Regions from separate parts of the Homo sapiens genome. Here regions 2, 3, 4 and 5 are each linked to region 1. Evidence: promoter capture Hi-C in 16 types of primary human blood cells and fetal thymus (Javierre and others, 2016). All regions are on one chromosome and are shown on one strand. The core of a region is centred on a gene start or on the middle of the fragment in contact, and the rest is flanking DNA. Distances in the headings are between cores, read along the strand shown. Region 1 holds the start of SYK (spleen associated tyrosine kinase). Region 2 holds the start of GADD45G (growth arrest and DNA damage inducible gamma). Region 3 overlaps SECISBP2 (SECIS binding protein 2). Region 4 has its middle 10 kb from the start of LINC03062. Region 5 overlaps LINC03062 (long intergenic non-protein coding RNA 3062).

Region 1 (2,700 bases), core at 148-2,647:
GCAACCTAAGTATGATCTGAGAAGGACTCTGTATTCTATATTTGAGTCCTTGTGGATGAACTGTAACCTAGCTTAATAGGCAGACAAGATTGAAAACCTAATTTAGGAGTATGTGCCTTTAACAATAGCTGAGTCTTGGCCAATCCCAGTGGCCATACTTCAACCATTCATACACTGCTGAGTGTTCAAACTGTGTTCAAAGAAGGCAAAAGCCAACCTGTAACCAATCCAGTTGTTTCTCTGCCTTACCTCCAATTTCTGTATGTCACTTCCCTTTTTTTGTCTATAAATATGTTCTGACCATGAGGCATCCCTGGAGTCTCTGAATCCGCTGTGATTCTGGAAGCTGCCCCATTCGCAAATCATTCATTACTCAATTAAACTGCTTTAAATTTAATTCTGCTGAAGTTTTCTTTTAACAGGTTTAGAAAAAATAATGGCAAAAATGAATGAAAATCCAATAACCCTGGAAGCAGAAAAGGCTGGGGGCTCCAATAAGTGTAAATAGTCCCATCCCTATATTTTCTCCATGGCAATTACAATCCAGCACATTATATATATATTTTTTTGCTTCTCGCATTTTGGCTTAGGGTAAAGCTTTTTAAAACAGGCACTGCCAACCAGTGTTATCAAGAAGGTCTGGATGCCGTTTTGTGGGAACATTTTAAAGAGGAATGTCCAAAAGGAAAAGGGGGATGGGTTGGGAGAAGGGTATCAGGCGGGTATCTCAAAACCATTCTTAGGGCTATAGGTTTAATTTATTTGGTTGTGGACGTCAGAGCCGTCATGGTAAGAAGGAAGCAAAGCCTTTTGTAATAATTAAAGCCTTCAGAAGCAGCGTGCCCCATTGCCCACTAGTGCGCCGTGAAGTCTGGTGTTCACCTACAGGGTCCCTCTCAGCACTGCCCAGGCCTCCCGAGTGCTCCAGCACAGTAGCTTGGAGCTTGTTGGTTTGGTGACCAAGATACACTCCAGGGAATATGCCATGCAGTGGAGTCTCTTCCCCGGCACTGCATAGCAAAAGGAAAGGGCCGCTGGGTGTCTGTGGGTCCTGGGCAGTCACAGAAGCCACCGCGCTGGCGGGGAGGAGGGGGACCGATGCGGTCCATGTCCCGGGCAGCCCCACCTTCTCTGCCTGCGAAGGGCCCTTGTCCGGCGGGAGGAGAGAGGCGCGCCCCACCCGGGCTCCTCTACACCTGCCGCCGCCTGGGCCGATTCCGCGGGCCTCGCCCGGCGCTTCAGCCGATTCCCGCCCAGCTCCGGGCTCATGGGCGCGGTCAGCAGGGCGGGCCAGGGCGGCGGGGCGCGACACTGGGAGGAAGTGCGGGCCGCCTGCCCGGGCGCGTTAAGGAAGTTGCCCAAAATGAGGAAGAGCCGCGGGCCCGGCGGCTGAGGCCACCCCGGCGGCGGCTGGAGAGCGAGGAGGAGCGGGTGGCCCCGCGCTGCGCCCGCCCTCGCCTCACCTGGCGCAGGTAGGTGTGGCCGCGTCCCCTACCCGGCCGGGACTTTCTGGTAAGGAGAGGAGGTTACGGGGAACGACGCGCTGCTTTCATGCCCTTTCTTGTTCTACCTTCATCGGCCGAGGTAAAAGTGCTGAAACCATGTGAATAAAATACAGGTGGGTTCCGCCAGCTTCGCTCCTGAACCTACCCGCGCTCGGGATCCAGAAGCTGCGCCGGGAGAGAGGGGCTCAGGCCTGGGCGGAGGGGACGGAGGTCAGACCGTGCGGAAAGTGACCCGGGCACCCCAGGGCGCCCAGGCCCCCAGGGAGCGCGGAAAGTGCGGTCGCGGCCCGGCCCTCGGGAGACGCGGGATTGGGATCAGGCACAGCGCGAGGAAGTCGATCTTGGAGCTAGAACATTTTCCTTTGGCCATTTACACGAATCCACTGGAAAATGCCGCAGTGTTTATCAAAGTTACTCAAAGTAGAAATGTCCAGACGTCTTATGAGCTTAGACAAATCTTTTACTACAAAAAGAAACAGCAGTTGCATTCAAACAACAACCCTTCTGAACCACTACTAAAATTTAGCATAATTACTCTTGTGGATACATTTTCATTGTCAAGTAATTTACTTAGCCAATGAACTTGGAGAGCAAGAAAGTTTTATGTAGTAAAATGTAAATTTGAGTTAAGAGTTAAGGGTGTTTCTTTTTGTCTGTTTGTCTGTTTTTGGCAATGTGGCTCCAAAACCTTAAGCCCACCTAAAAACTATATAAATGCAATCCATTCTTTTGTTGGAATGTTCAAGGACTAGAAAGACAATTGGAGAAGTGAGAGTTTGAATCTTTTTTTACGTTGGAAACAGTGTTGCAAAATATTTTTTGAGTTTTGCCTGACTTAGCAAAGATTCAGTCGAACTCAAGTAGAGTTCAAAGCATTGCAGCGTGTAGTAAAAAAAAAAAAGAGTTGAAGATGTTGTGCCATATCTGATTCTTGGTATTAAAAATAAAAAAAGGAACCATTTAATCCCTAAGAGTTCCTGGAAGAAATGGAATTGATTCTACCATCTGACTTCTTTGTCTTAGTAGGGACAAATTCATTGCCTTCACACAGGCAGCATTTTAATTAAATGCAACTAAATACATTGATGTCCTCCTTCTCCCCAGTGAAAGTCCGAGCAGTGCATAGATAGAATTATATTTTCTCAAAAAGGCTTAAATACATGTAAATTATTAAGTGTTTTAAGTGAGAAATCTT
Region 2 (2,700 bases), core at 181-2,680, 1.2 Mb before region 1:
GGAAAAAAGGCTTTTTACATATGCGCATTTAAGTAATTAAGATATTTCAACATGGTATAAGACGTAGGGGCTCTTACTCCATCAGTACTGGATGGGAATTTCCTTTTGCCCTCTACTCCCCAGGGTAACTGCAGTCCCACCTGAATGCGTTTTGCAGCCCTTACTCGGGTTCTATTTATGCGCAGCTTGGACAGGGCTCACTGGGCCCGGCCGGGCAGCTCCGTGGCCGTCCCTCTCCACCGCCCTTCCCCCGCGCCAGGCCAATGCAAGGGTGTGTGTGTTGGGGGGAGGGGAGGACAAAAGGGGTTCAGGATCTTTTTAACCTGCCTGCAGATGGCGCCCCGGGAAAGATTCCGAGCTGCATTACCTAAGCTCCAGGGGCTGCAGCCGCGGGGTCCCGGCCACAGGGCGTCCAGCCGCGAAGACTGCACAGCAGCTCTCCGTCCTTCCCAACTCGCGCGGCTGTTCGGCACCCGTGCGAGGAACGGATGGAAGGGAATTACTTGTAGCAGGGCCAGTACTGGGGGCGTGCACTCAGGGACCACGGAGTGGCACTCAGCCTCGACCCCACGCGCCAGGCAGCCCGGCGACCCCCACGCGCGGCGGGGTCCTGCCCACCCCACCCGGCGGCAGGTGGACAGTGTTGCTATGAAGAGAAAGCCTCGATTGTCCCTACAGCAAACCGCCACACGCCAGACCTCTGCTATTGTGCGCCCTCCATAGAAATGCAAACGAGCGGCGTGCGCCGGCCGCAATCTGCTCGTCCCCGCCCGCCCCCGTCTCCCGCGCCCCGCCGCGCTCGGCCAAGGGCGGGGAGGTGGGGTGGGATCTTCCAGAGACGGCTCAATGTACACATTGAGTATGCCTGGCAGGCATCACCAGCGCGCTCGGGACGCTAGTGGTCAGCTGCAGGGGGCTGTGCCCACTGCCTTTTGCAAGCCTCTAACTGGCGCTACCTGTTTTTACCTTAATTTCTGGCTCCAATGCAACAGTCTCATAGACTTCAAATTAAAGAAAAGAAACAAATAGAAAGGTAGCAATACAAAATGCAAAAAAAAATCCCTTTGCTTCTATAAAGGTGCTTTTCGCAAATTGCAGCATCATATAAGCAAACAAGGTTTTTGTGGGTTGGGTTTTTTCTTTTTTTTTTTTTTTTACTTTTTCCTTTTAAGGACTTCAAAAAAAAAAAAAAGCCAGGCGAGATGAAATCTGCAGGCTCCAGTCTGCCTGGTAACACCCCAACAAAAGCGGCAGATTTGAGGCATTGTCATCCCCCGCACCCCTCCCCACGTGGCCTTCTGGCACGAGCCGCTGGCTCGCCGCCTCATTTACATCAGAAAGCGGGTGCCGGCCAATAGGCGCGCAGCCTCGCGCCAGCTGGCGGCGCCGCACCCACCAGCCTATATAAGGGCGCGCAGCGTAGTAGGGGCGCACTCGCTGGTGGTGGGCGCGCCGTGCTGAGCTCTGGCTGTCAGTGTGTTCGCCCGCGTCCCCTCCGCGCTCTCCGCTTGTGGATAACTAGCTGCTGGTTGATCGCACTATGACTCTGGAAGAAGTCCGCGGCCAGGACACAGTTCCGGAAAGCACAGCCAGGTGGGTTTCAGGGCGCTGAGAAAGCCGCTGGTCGGTCGGCGACCGTCAGGGTTTTCCAGGGTGGGAATCCGCGGGGTAGGAGGGGAGCGCGGGGGTCCGGGCGCCAGATCCCGGTTGGAGAGCCGGGGTGCAGGCGCTGAGCCGGGATTGGAGTGTGGTTGGAGTTGGGGAGCCAAGGGTGTGTGCCGGTGGCCGGGGCTGGGGTCTCCGCCGCGCCCTCCGGCCGGCTCCCGCTCACTGCGCTGGCTCCTCCGCAGGATGCAGGGTGCCGGGAAAGCGCTGCATGAGTTGCTGCTGTCGGCGCAGCGTCAGGGCTGCCTCACTGCCGGCGTCTACGAGTCAGCCAAAGTCTTGAACGTGTAAGTGTAGACGCGGCCCAGGCTGGGAGACAGGGGCGGGGGTGAATGGCGAGGAGACTGGCGGATGGGAGGGGTGGCGGCGGGAGAACTCGGCTAGCCGGTTCTGACCTAGGTCCCCGCCTTGCCCTCGCAGGGACCCCGACAATGTGACCTTCTGTGTGCTGGCTGCGGGTGAGGAGGACGAGGGCGACATCGCGCTGCAGATCCATTTTACGCTGATCCAGGCTTTCTGCTGCGAGAACGACATCGACATAGTGCGCGTGGGCGATGTGCAGCGGCTGGCGGCTATCGTGGGCGCCGGCGAGGAGGCGGGTGCGCCGGGCGACCTGCACTGCATCCTCATTTCGGTGAGTACAGTCCCGTCCTGTCCCCGCCCCAGTGTCGTTCCCGCCTCGGCCCGCGGCCAGCCAGGCTGACCCTGCTCTCTCTCCGCAGAACCCCAACGAGGACGCCTGGAAGGATCCCGCCTTGGAGAAGCTCAGCCTGTTTTGCGAGGAGAGCCGCAGCGTTAACGACTGGGTGCCCAGCATCACCCTCCCCGAGTGACAGCCCGGCGGGGACCTTGGTCTGATCGACGTGGTGACGCCCCGGGGCGCCTAGAGCGCGGCTGGCTCTGTGGAGGGGCCCTCCGAGGGTGCCCGAGTGCGGCGTGGAGACTGGCAGGCGGGGGGGGCGCCTGGAGAGCGAGGAGGCGCGGCCTCCCGAGGAGGGGCCCGGTGGCGGCAGGGCCAGGCTGGTCCGAGCTGAG
Region 3 (2,700 bases), core at 200-2,699, 1.5 Mb before region 1:
TTTCAGGCTTAAGTTCTTCTAAATTTGAGTTGAAAGAAGGCTTACATTTTTCCTTACATTTTCTTTTTCCTTCTCAGGATTCATTCTCTAGGTTTACAAAATGGCTTCCTCTTGCAGCTGAATTTAGACAAAAAAAGTATTAATCTTTCACATAATTGTGTAGATTTATTTGTAGATCTGTTTTTAAGATTTGCATCAGGTGTAGTTCTAATCTAAGAATCCTAATGCTTTTTTCTTCTTTGATATGATTCTAACTTGTTTCCTTTTATTTGTGCCTGCATGATGTAATTGAAAATAGTTTGTACTGTATATAAATTCTAGAATTATATTTGCAAGAATGAGAATTGTAATGAATAAGAAAATGATTGAGTTGTCTTTTGTGTTTAGGAAATACTGAAAGTTGTATTTTTTTGACGAAAGTTGAAACACTACCTTTATATGCTGGAATTTGGTCTTTGGTAGGAATACCCTATTTTTCCACTGTATTTCATCCACTGTAAAGGGGAGTTTGGCATGGGTCTCACTTGAGTTGTTCCCTACCTTGAGTGTCTCACATAACAAAATACAAAAATATATCTCAGTGACAAGAGCTCAAAGCCATCTGCTAGGTGGTATTTAGTTACTCAAAATAGTGGTGGAAAACATTCACATGGCTAAAGGAACATTTTGGCAGTAACATGAGTGGAGACTAATCAGAGACTCAAGAATGGGCAGTGCTGAATTTAAAAATTAGTTTTCTTGGCCGGGTGTGGTGGCTCATGCCTGTAATCCCAGCACTTTGGGAGGCCAAGGCGGGTGGATCACGAGGTCAGGAGTTCAAGACGAGCCTGACCAACATGGTGAAACCCCATCTCTACTACAGAAATACAAAAATTAGCCGGGTGTGGTGGCAGGTGCCTGTAATCCCAGTTACTCGGGAGGCTGAGGTAGAGAATTGCTTGAACCCAGGAGATGGAGGTTGCAGTGAGCCAAGACTGCGCCACTGCACTTCAGCCTGGGCAACAGAACAAGACTCTCTCTCAAAAAAAAAAAAATAGTTTTCTTAACTCTTCTTTTTTAGCTTTGGTTTATGACCAAGGAAAAGTATTCACGCCTGGCAAGAAAACAAGGATAAGGAAGGCATTAAGTTGAAGAGGAAGAGTTAGAAAGGAAAAGATCCTTTAAAGTGGGGATGAAATAATGAGACTTCACATGGTTGAGAATTGATTATCTGAGCAGTTCTAATATAGATTAAAAATTGCATTGCCATAGTCAGATTACATGTAAATGGAGATCTCTTGCTGCTGTGACAAAAGGAATAGAAGTTTCTGAAACAACTATTTCCTCCTTCTTACTTGTTCAACTACATAGCATCCTAAGTCAACTTTGTATGTCCCCTTCCCTCATCTTTCCTTAAAGAAGGTATAGTAACCTTTTACAGAATTTGTCCTCCTCCAGTACCTTTCACAGTGCACTCAAAGATGCTCATTTATTCATTTGGAATTAATTATTGAAAGTCTTCCATAGTTTTGAAGTGATGGAGATGAAAATGAACATACCAGACTCTTCCATATTTATGTTATAGGACAAGACAAAGAAATTAGAAGTAGTCTGATAGATAACATTTGCCATGTTTGGAAAATACTGATTATTTACTGATGTAATGAACAAATTTGCCTATGCAAACAAAATAAGTTTCTTCCAAGTAATGTCCATTGTCATGTTACATCCTTTGTGAAAAATCCTGTGCAACCTGTGTATGAGGATGTGTGCCTTTTGTTTGGGTATTATTGTATACTTCCACTTCTTTCATAGTTACTACAATCCATGAGGTGGCAGGCAGATGTAATGTTATTTTGCACATGGGAAACTGAAGCTAGGAATGTTTGTTCATGCTAATTCAAATAGGTAGCACCAGAACCAGAATTAACGTGCTATTCTTCAAAATTGCTGCTGCTATTGACAAGAGGTAGTTGAGCATTTTCACCATCTGCCAATATACTGTGAAAATTTTAGTACCAATTGATGCTTTTGAGTTAAAGCAGATCAGCTATGAGAAGAACTAGTGGTATACAACATTGTACAGCTGAGCACGTGGCTCGGTGGGTGGAGGAGAAACTGCATCCCCTTTGGGTCGTTGCCTGACTGAAGGGACCATGTGCATGATATGTTTGGGAGATAGTAGAGGAATAAAGTGATAATTTTGGGGGGAAGCTGTCAGTAGATTGGAAGCCTGCATAGTACAGCTGAAAAGTTTTAGGTTTGCTGGGTAGGCAATAGGGAACTTTTGGTAGTGTCTTAAATGGGGTCATTGTAATCACTCCTAAATTTTGGAAAGATTTTTAAAGAAGAGGGTCTTGAAGGCTTTGACCAGGTTCTAGGCACTGGAAATAGTAAAGAAACTACATGAGAGAACTGTTGAAATAAAAAAGAGCCCCATGATTGTCCGTACAGGTTTTGGTGGGAAAGATGTTACAAAAATATTCGGTTGAATACATGGAAATAATTGTAGGATCATACATGAGAACAGAAGTTGTAAATGGGGCTGTTTTGGGGAATGGATGTTAAATTTGGGATTTATACGTGCTGAATTGGGAAAAAGTGAAATAGTAAGTGGAAATGACCTGAAAGTTGGAGATGGAGGCCTGGACTAGGGAAGGTGCTGGATTGTTTATATTTATGTCAAGTCCTAAGCAGAAAGATAAGAGGTTCTGACCCAGA
Region 4 (2,700 bases), core at 18-2,517, 1.2 Mb before region 1:
TATGCGAACTTCATTCTGCCCCTTGGTCCTGTTCCACACCCTGCAGAGCTGCTCTCCTGTGGGGTGTCCTGTGGGGTCTTCGGGAGCACCGGGTGGGGTCAAGCTGGGTGGGGCATGTACCAAATCACCCATGCAGGCACTCACCAGCACCCTGACTTCCCCAATGTCCCTGGCAGCTTTCCTTGGTGACTGAGTGTCCCCAGGCTTAGCTTCATGCTTTCAAACAGTTTCTTTCTGGAAAACTCCGAAATTTTCCATAAATAAAAGAGGTATCCTTAGCAATCCTTGGGCTCAGATAGAGTGTTCTCTCTGCATGGTAATTAACGCCAGGAAAAAGGAAAATGCTGAGTCCCTGGCCTGGGCTCCCTGGTGGTCTGAAAGCTTTCCTATGGACAGTCATGTGTCAACTGCTTCCAGCGGGGCAGAAAGTCTTAGAAAGCCTGGGGAACCACTTGTGAAAACATGCAGCTCTGACAGTGACAGATGCAATTTTAGGCATACATATGTCTGATTTGGAGTTGGGAGTTGCCCTTTAAAATATGCAGGACCAGAAAATAGAAAGGACATCCTGAAGGCTGACAGATTTGATCTTGCAAAGGACAAACTTGCTGCATAAAAGTTAAACATTTCTGTTTGGCAAGAAGTAAAATTACTAAGAAAAACCCGGGAAAATGTTTGGCAATTTCTGTGAAACATAAAAGGTTAGTGGCCACAATATGCAAAGAGCTTTACAAAATAAACACAAACAAAAAATGGGCAAAGATTATAAAAATGGAAGAAGAGGCCACCTTGGTTGCCAAGATTACATAAAAAGATGCTCGATTTCACTAGTAATCAGCAAAATGAAGATAAAAGTCACAATGATGTATATTTTCCACCTCTAAGGTTGACACAATGTTTAAAAATGGACAACCTCAATGGTGGCCGGTTGCAAGGAAATGGGCACACTTCCTTACATTATTGCTGGGATGGTGAACCACAGCAAAGGCAAGAGAATGGCGGTTTTCGTTACACTGTAAAGTGCCTGGACACTTTGACTCAGCAGTCTCCTTTTTAGGAAGTTATCCTTCAGAAGTAAGTGAACTGATGTGTAAGAATATATGCACAGGGTGTGTACCACAGCTTTATACAAAGATAGCACAAAACAGGACAGCTTGAATGTTCCTGGGGACGGAATAGACGGATAAAGGATGGGACTTCCATTCAGTGGAATATTAGATAGCTTTCAAGAGGAACAAGGTAGATCTGTGAGTATTATTCTGGAGGAATGCCCAGGAAATATTAAATTACAGAAAAGCAGCAAGTGTCCACTCAGTGCCCAGGGTGGCCTGCCCCGAGTAGGGCTCAGGGTTGTGTGTGTGCACATGGTGCAGGAAGGCAGGGTGCTGCCGGACAGGTCAGGGCCATGGCTTTGGGTCTTGGAGGTGGGGTAGCGGGTGAGCAGAGGACTCAGAAGTGCTCCCTCATGCAAGCATACTATGCCACTTGTTCCAGCAACATGAACTATTTTTGTAGTATTAAAAGAGTCAACAATAAAACCCAGCCGGTTGCAGGCAATGTGACTTCGGTGAGCCTCTGAGATGCCTCGTGCTGCAGTTGCTCTTGCATTTGGCTCCATTTCTATTTTGTTCCCTCCAAGCTCCCAGTTCTAGAAAAACCACCAACCATCTAGTAGTTTAGAAAGTTTCCTTCTACAAAATCATGTTTTGAAGTCTCAGTTTCTCAAAAACAATGGCCCTGTGCATTTGGAAAGAGCAGTGTGCCTGCTGATGTTGGCTAGCATGCAATTTCATCTTTTGAGTCCTTTGTGTGTGTGTGTGTGTGTGCGCGCATGTGTGTGCGTTTGTTTGTTTGTTTTTTATAACAATATTCTTCTAAGCCAGATTGTAGAAGAAAGGAAGAAAGCTCTAACATTCCTCTTTGGCAAAGGAGAACCAATAGTCACTATTCTGTACATGGAACCCATCCCTCCTCCTTTTCCAGAAGCAGTCACATTCTTGCAGACAAGCTCCTGTTTCTGGTATTCGTGGGCAGAGAGTAGGGACCCAGCGGTTCCTTGCGCTCAGAGCAGGAGGGCCCAAGGCAGAATTTCCCACTTTCCCAGTCAGTAGCTACAAGCAGGTAAAGTTTACCAGGCTGAAAAATCTTGGGGTAAAAGCTTTCCTGAGGCCAGGACAAACACAGGGTGAGACCAGACAATGACTGAAAACAATGGATGTTTGGTGAATGTCTTAGTCTGATTATGCTGCTGTGAGAAAGTACTGGAGACTAGGTAATTTAGAACACACATTTATTTTCTCATAGTTTTGGGGTTTTGAAGGTGGCCCTGCCCTCAGAGCTGCACCAAACATTGCCCTAATGAGGACTCTGCTGTAGCCCTGACTCCACGGCTCTGCTAGGCATTCCCTAGTGGAATGCTGTGGTCTGAATGTTGTTTCCCCTCCCACATTCACGTTGAATTCTAAATCTCAATGCAATAGTATTAACAGGTGGGGCCTTTCGGAGGCGAGGAAATCATGAGGGTGCCTCCTTCATGAATGGGATTAGGCCTTTATAAAAGATGATTCACATAGCCTCTCTGTCTCCTCTAGAGGATGCAGCAACAGAGAGCCATCTCGGAAGCAGAGTGCAGCCCTCACCAGACACAGAACCCACCAGAGCCTTGATCTTCAATTTTCCAGCCTTTAGAACTGTGAGAAA
Region 5 (2,700 bases), core at 175-2,674, 1.1 Mb before region 1:
AAGGCCTGGCTTTACAGTTGCATTATGAATCTTCTTGGACTGTCCTCTGAAGTTGGCCAGGCTCATCAAATATTTATAAACTCAGTACCTAATTCCACAGGGCACCTCGAAACATACACCATGAATGAGGCTATGGGCCTGGAGGCTGGGATCTTCAAGCTCACTGAAGCCACAGGGTGTCCTTATAAAAGAGCTTCATAAAAATGCAAATTAATAATAACAGTAGATCATCACTTATTCAACCTCCACTTTGAGGATCGTGGGCCATAATTAGGATGAAGTGCCAAGAACTGAGCCCCAGGGAGTTTGTAACTTTTTTTACTCTGGGGTCTAAGGGACATCATGGGGGCTTTTTGAGTTGAAAAATAAAGTGAAATTTGTGTCTCACACTACACCTACAGTTCCTTCTTGTCTCGATTGCCAGGAGGAAAGACTGAGATATAATACCTATCAGAGAATACTGACTGAAAAATAATTCACATTAATTCAACCTATTTATCCATGATGCCATTTTAATCATTAAAACATGGAAGACTTGGCCGGGAGCAGTGGCTCACACCTGTAATCCCAGCACTTTGGGAGGCCGAGGAGGGTGAATCACCTGAGGTCAGGAGTTCGAGACCAGCCTGACCAACATGGCGAAACCCTGTCTCTACTGAAAATACAAAATTAGCTAGGCATGGTGGCTTGTGCCTGTAATCTCAGCTACTCGGGAGGCTGAGGCAGGAGAATTGCTTGAACCCGGGAGGCAGAGGTTGCAGTGAGCTGAGATCACGTCACTGCACTCCAGCCTGGGCAACAAGAGTGAGACTCCATCTCAAAAAACAAAACAAAACAAAACAAAACAAAACAAAACAAAACATGGAAGGCTAGAATGTCAGAGGTAAAGTTTGGTGAAGTTACTGGGTCAGCTCTGTACACTAAAAAAAAAAAATGCTTGAAAATCATCCAGGATGTCTGCTGGGCCATCTTCAGATGGAGGTGGTGTTCTTTGGCAAGTGGTAGTCAACACAGCGGGAAAAAAATAGAGGAATGAAATGGATGGTGGTACAAGATGATGGCCTACAATTAATGGAGAGGGGGCGACACTGAAAATCTCTGGGGGGCGAGTAAATATTAAAGGTGATTGGATTTTTTAAAATGAGAGAAAATGTAGAAACAAAACACAGTGTGAGGTTGAGTAAGATGGAGATGATAAGATAGAAGAAATCTGGGTGGGGACATGAAGCTGGAGCAGACGAGGGGAGTGCAAGGCCCAGAATGTGCTTTGGAGATGAATGGAGAACTTAGGGACAATAAAGACTGTGTAGAGAGAGAAAGATGGAGTAAGAAAAAGAGAGGGACTGGCAGCTGCAGTGGCACATGTGCACTGAAGCAAGCTCGTGGCTACTGCTGTACCTCCATCTCTCTGGCTCTCTCTCCTCCTCCCCAGCCTCCAAGGGGCCAGCATGAAAATGCAGAGGACAGAGATGTGTGCTAAGCACGGCACTCATATGGTGTACCCCCAGTTGGGAGACTAAAGCTGTGCTAGTAGGGGCATAAGATAGCTGGGTGCTCTCTGGTGTGAATTTGGGGTAGAAAACTAACCATCTGACATAGCCGTAGTAGGTACATTGGTCGCCTTTTCCTTCGTGTGCTTGGAGGTAGAAGGGCGAACTGTTTCTGAGAGTGGAGAATGCCCTTTCCATCCTTTCTCTACCATTGCATGACAGGGCATGGGCAATGCTGTTTTCTTAGGCAGGAAGTCTATGTCCAGGGAAGGAGCATGAGAGACAAGGGGACTCCTAAAGGGAGGCCGGAAGGAGAGGATTCTGGGGTGGGGAAGAAGCGGACGCCTCCATCGGGCTGTATGCCAGCCTGAGGTATGAAAGGCTCACCACAGGGTCATGCTCAGAGGATGGCCGGTCCTTACAAGGGCACAGGGCTGCTGACGGGATACGCTGCTATGTGGGAGGAATTTGCCAAATGACAACCTTGGATGAAGAACTGCTCAAGTCTTTTTTTGGTGTCCGTTGTGAGCTCACACAGAGGAAACCTACCTACCAATGCAGAAACTGGATGAACAGGGGAGAAGTCAGAAAGCCCTTTATTGTGGATCACGGGGCAGTGAGGGGTGCCCTACCCACACATGGCATCCAGCAGGCAACAGTACCCTGACCTTCCTCCCAAGTTGTAGTTAGACATCCCTACGGAACAAATAAGAAAGGGCTCTCACATGGCTATATATTTAGACAAATACACAGATCAACTGACGTATTCATCAATGGATGCACAGATAGGCACATTCATACCTGGAACCTAGTGGGGCACACATTTTGAAAACACATTTTTCTGTAAGGTGATCTTGATAACATCCAGTGGTCACTGAGTGCCTACTTGGACATTATGTTGAGTACTTCACATTTAATTGGCACAATACCCCTTTAGGTAGAAACCGTAAGTTGCCCCATGGTCTGGCTTGGGCAGTGATGCACTAGAGTTTGAGCTCCTGCTCAGGGTCTCACCACCGGGCATGTAGCCAGATACAGGGCTCTAGCCCTCGGTGCTGCAGGGCCTACCCCGGAAAAAACCACCCCCTCTCCCAGTTTAATGCAAACAAGGAGAGCGGCTGGAGTGAATGGAAAGCACCATCACACTTTGAGGCAGATGAACCTTGATGAAGATGAGCAATGAAATGTATTGTGGGAAGTCAGTGATGCT

The links. The method cuts DNA at HindIII sites, captures the fragments that hold promoters and counts their contacts. A CHiCAGO score of 5 or more calls a contact.
Region 2: a contact is called between the fragment with the promoter of GADD45G here and the fragment with the promoter of SYK in region 1, in 6 of 17 cell types (monocytes, megakaryocytes, fetal thymus and 3 more). The highest score is 15.0, in monocytes.
Region 3: a fragment that was not itself captured here is called in contact with the fragment with the promoter of SYK in region 1 in 2 of 17 cell types (neutrophils and monocytes); the score reaches 11.7 in neutrophils.
Region 4: a contact is called between a fragment that was not itself captured here and the fragment with the promoter of SYK in region 1, in 1 of 17 cell types (neutrophils). The highest score is 6.9, in neutrophils.
Region 5: a contact is called between a fragment that was not itself captured here and the fragment with the promoter of SYK in region 1, in 1 of 17 cell types (neutrophils). The highest score is 5.2, in neutrophils.

Annotation. Positions count from the first base shown.
Region 1 is chr9:90,800,422-90,803,121 of GRCh38, forward strand. SYK (spleen associated tyrosine kinase) reads left to right here and starts at 1,398. Exons shown (of 14, transcript NM_003177.7): 1 at 1,398-1,472. RefSeq lists silencers at 1,147-1,356, 1,377-1,536. The HindIII fragment of the contact is 2,717 bases long and covers 596-2,700 here.
Region 2 is chr9:89,603,582-89,606,281 of GRCh38, forward strand. GADD45G (growth arrest and DNA damage inducible gamma) reads left to right here and starts at 1,431. Exons shown (of 4, transcript NM_006705.4): 1 at 1,431-1,593; 2 at 1,851-1,952; 3 at 2,086-2,299; 4 at 2,388-2,700. The coding sequence starts at 1,541. The coding sequence ends at 2,498. It overlaps LOC105376139 (a long non-coding RNA gene), which reads right to left and starts at 1,435. Exons shown (of 2, transcript XR_930105.3): 1 at 1-1,435. RefSeq lists an enhancer at 242-1,140 and a silencer at 751-800. The HindIII fragment of the contact is 4,421 bases long and covers 1-2,700 here.
Region 3 is chr9:89,320,645-89,323,344 of GRCh38, forward strand. All of the region lies in intron 2 of SECISBP2 (SECIS binding protein 2), which reads left to right. Among named protein-coding and RNA genes, the nearest start is that of SECISBP2, 3.5 kb to the left of the region's middle. The HindIII fragment of the contact is 4,234 bases long and covers 1-2,700 here.
Region 4 is chr9:89,628,274-89,630,973 of GRCh38, forward strand. No RefSeq gene overlaps it. Among named protein-coding and RNA genes, the nearest start is that of LINC03062, 10 kb to the right of the region's middle. The HindIII fragment of the contact is 1,777 bases long and covers 380-2,156 here.
Region 5 is chr9:89,692,231-89,694,930 of GRCh38, forward strand. All of the region lies in intron 3 of LINC03062 (long intergenic non-protein coding RNA 3062), which reads left to right. Among named protein-coding and RNA genes, the nearest start is that of LINC03062, 54 kb to the left of the region's middle. The HindIII fragment of the contact is 3,386 bases long and covers 1-2,700 here.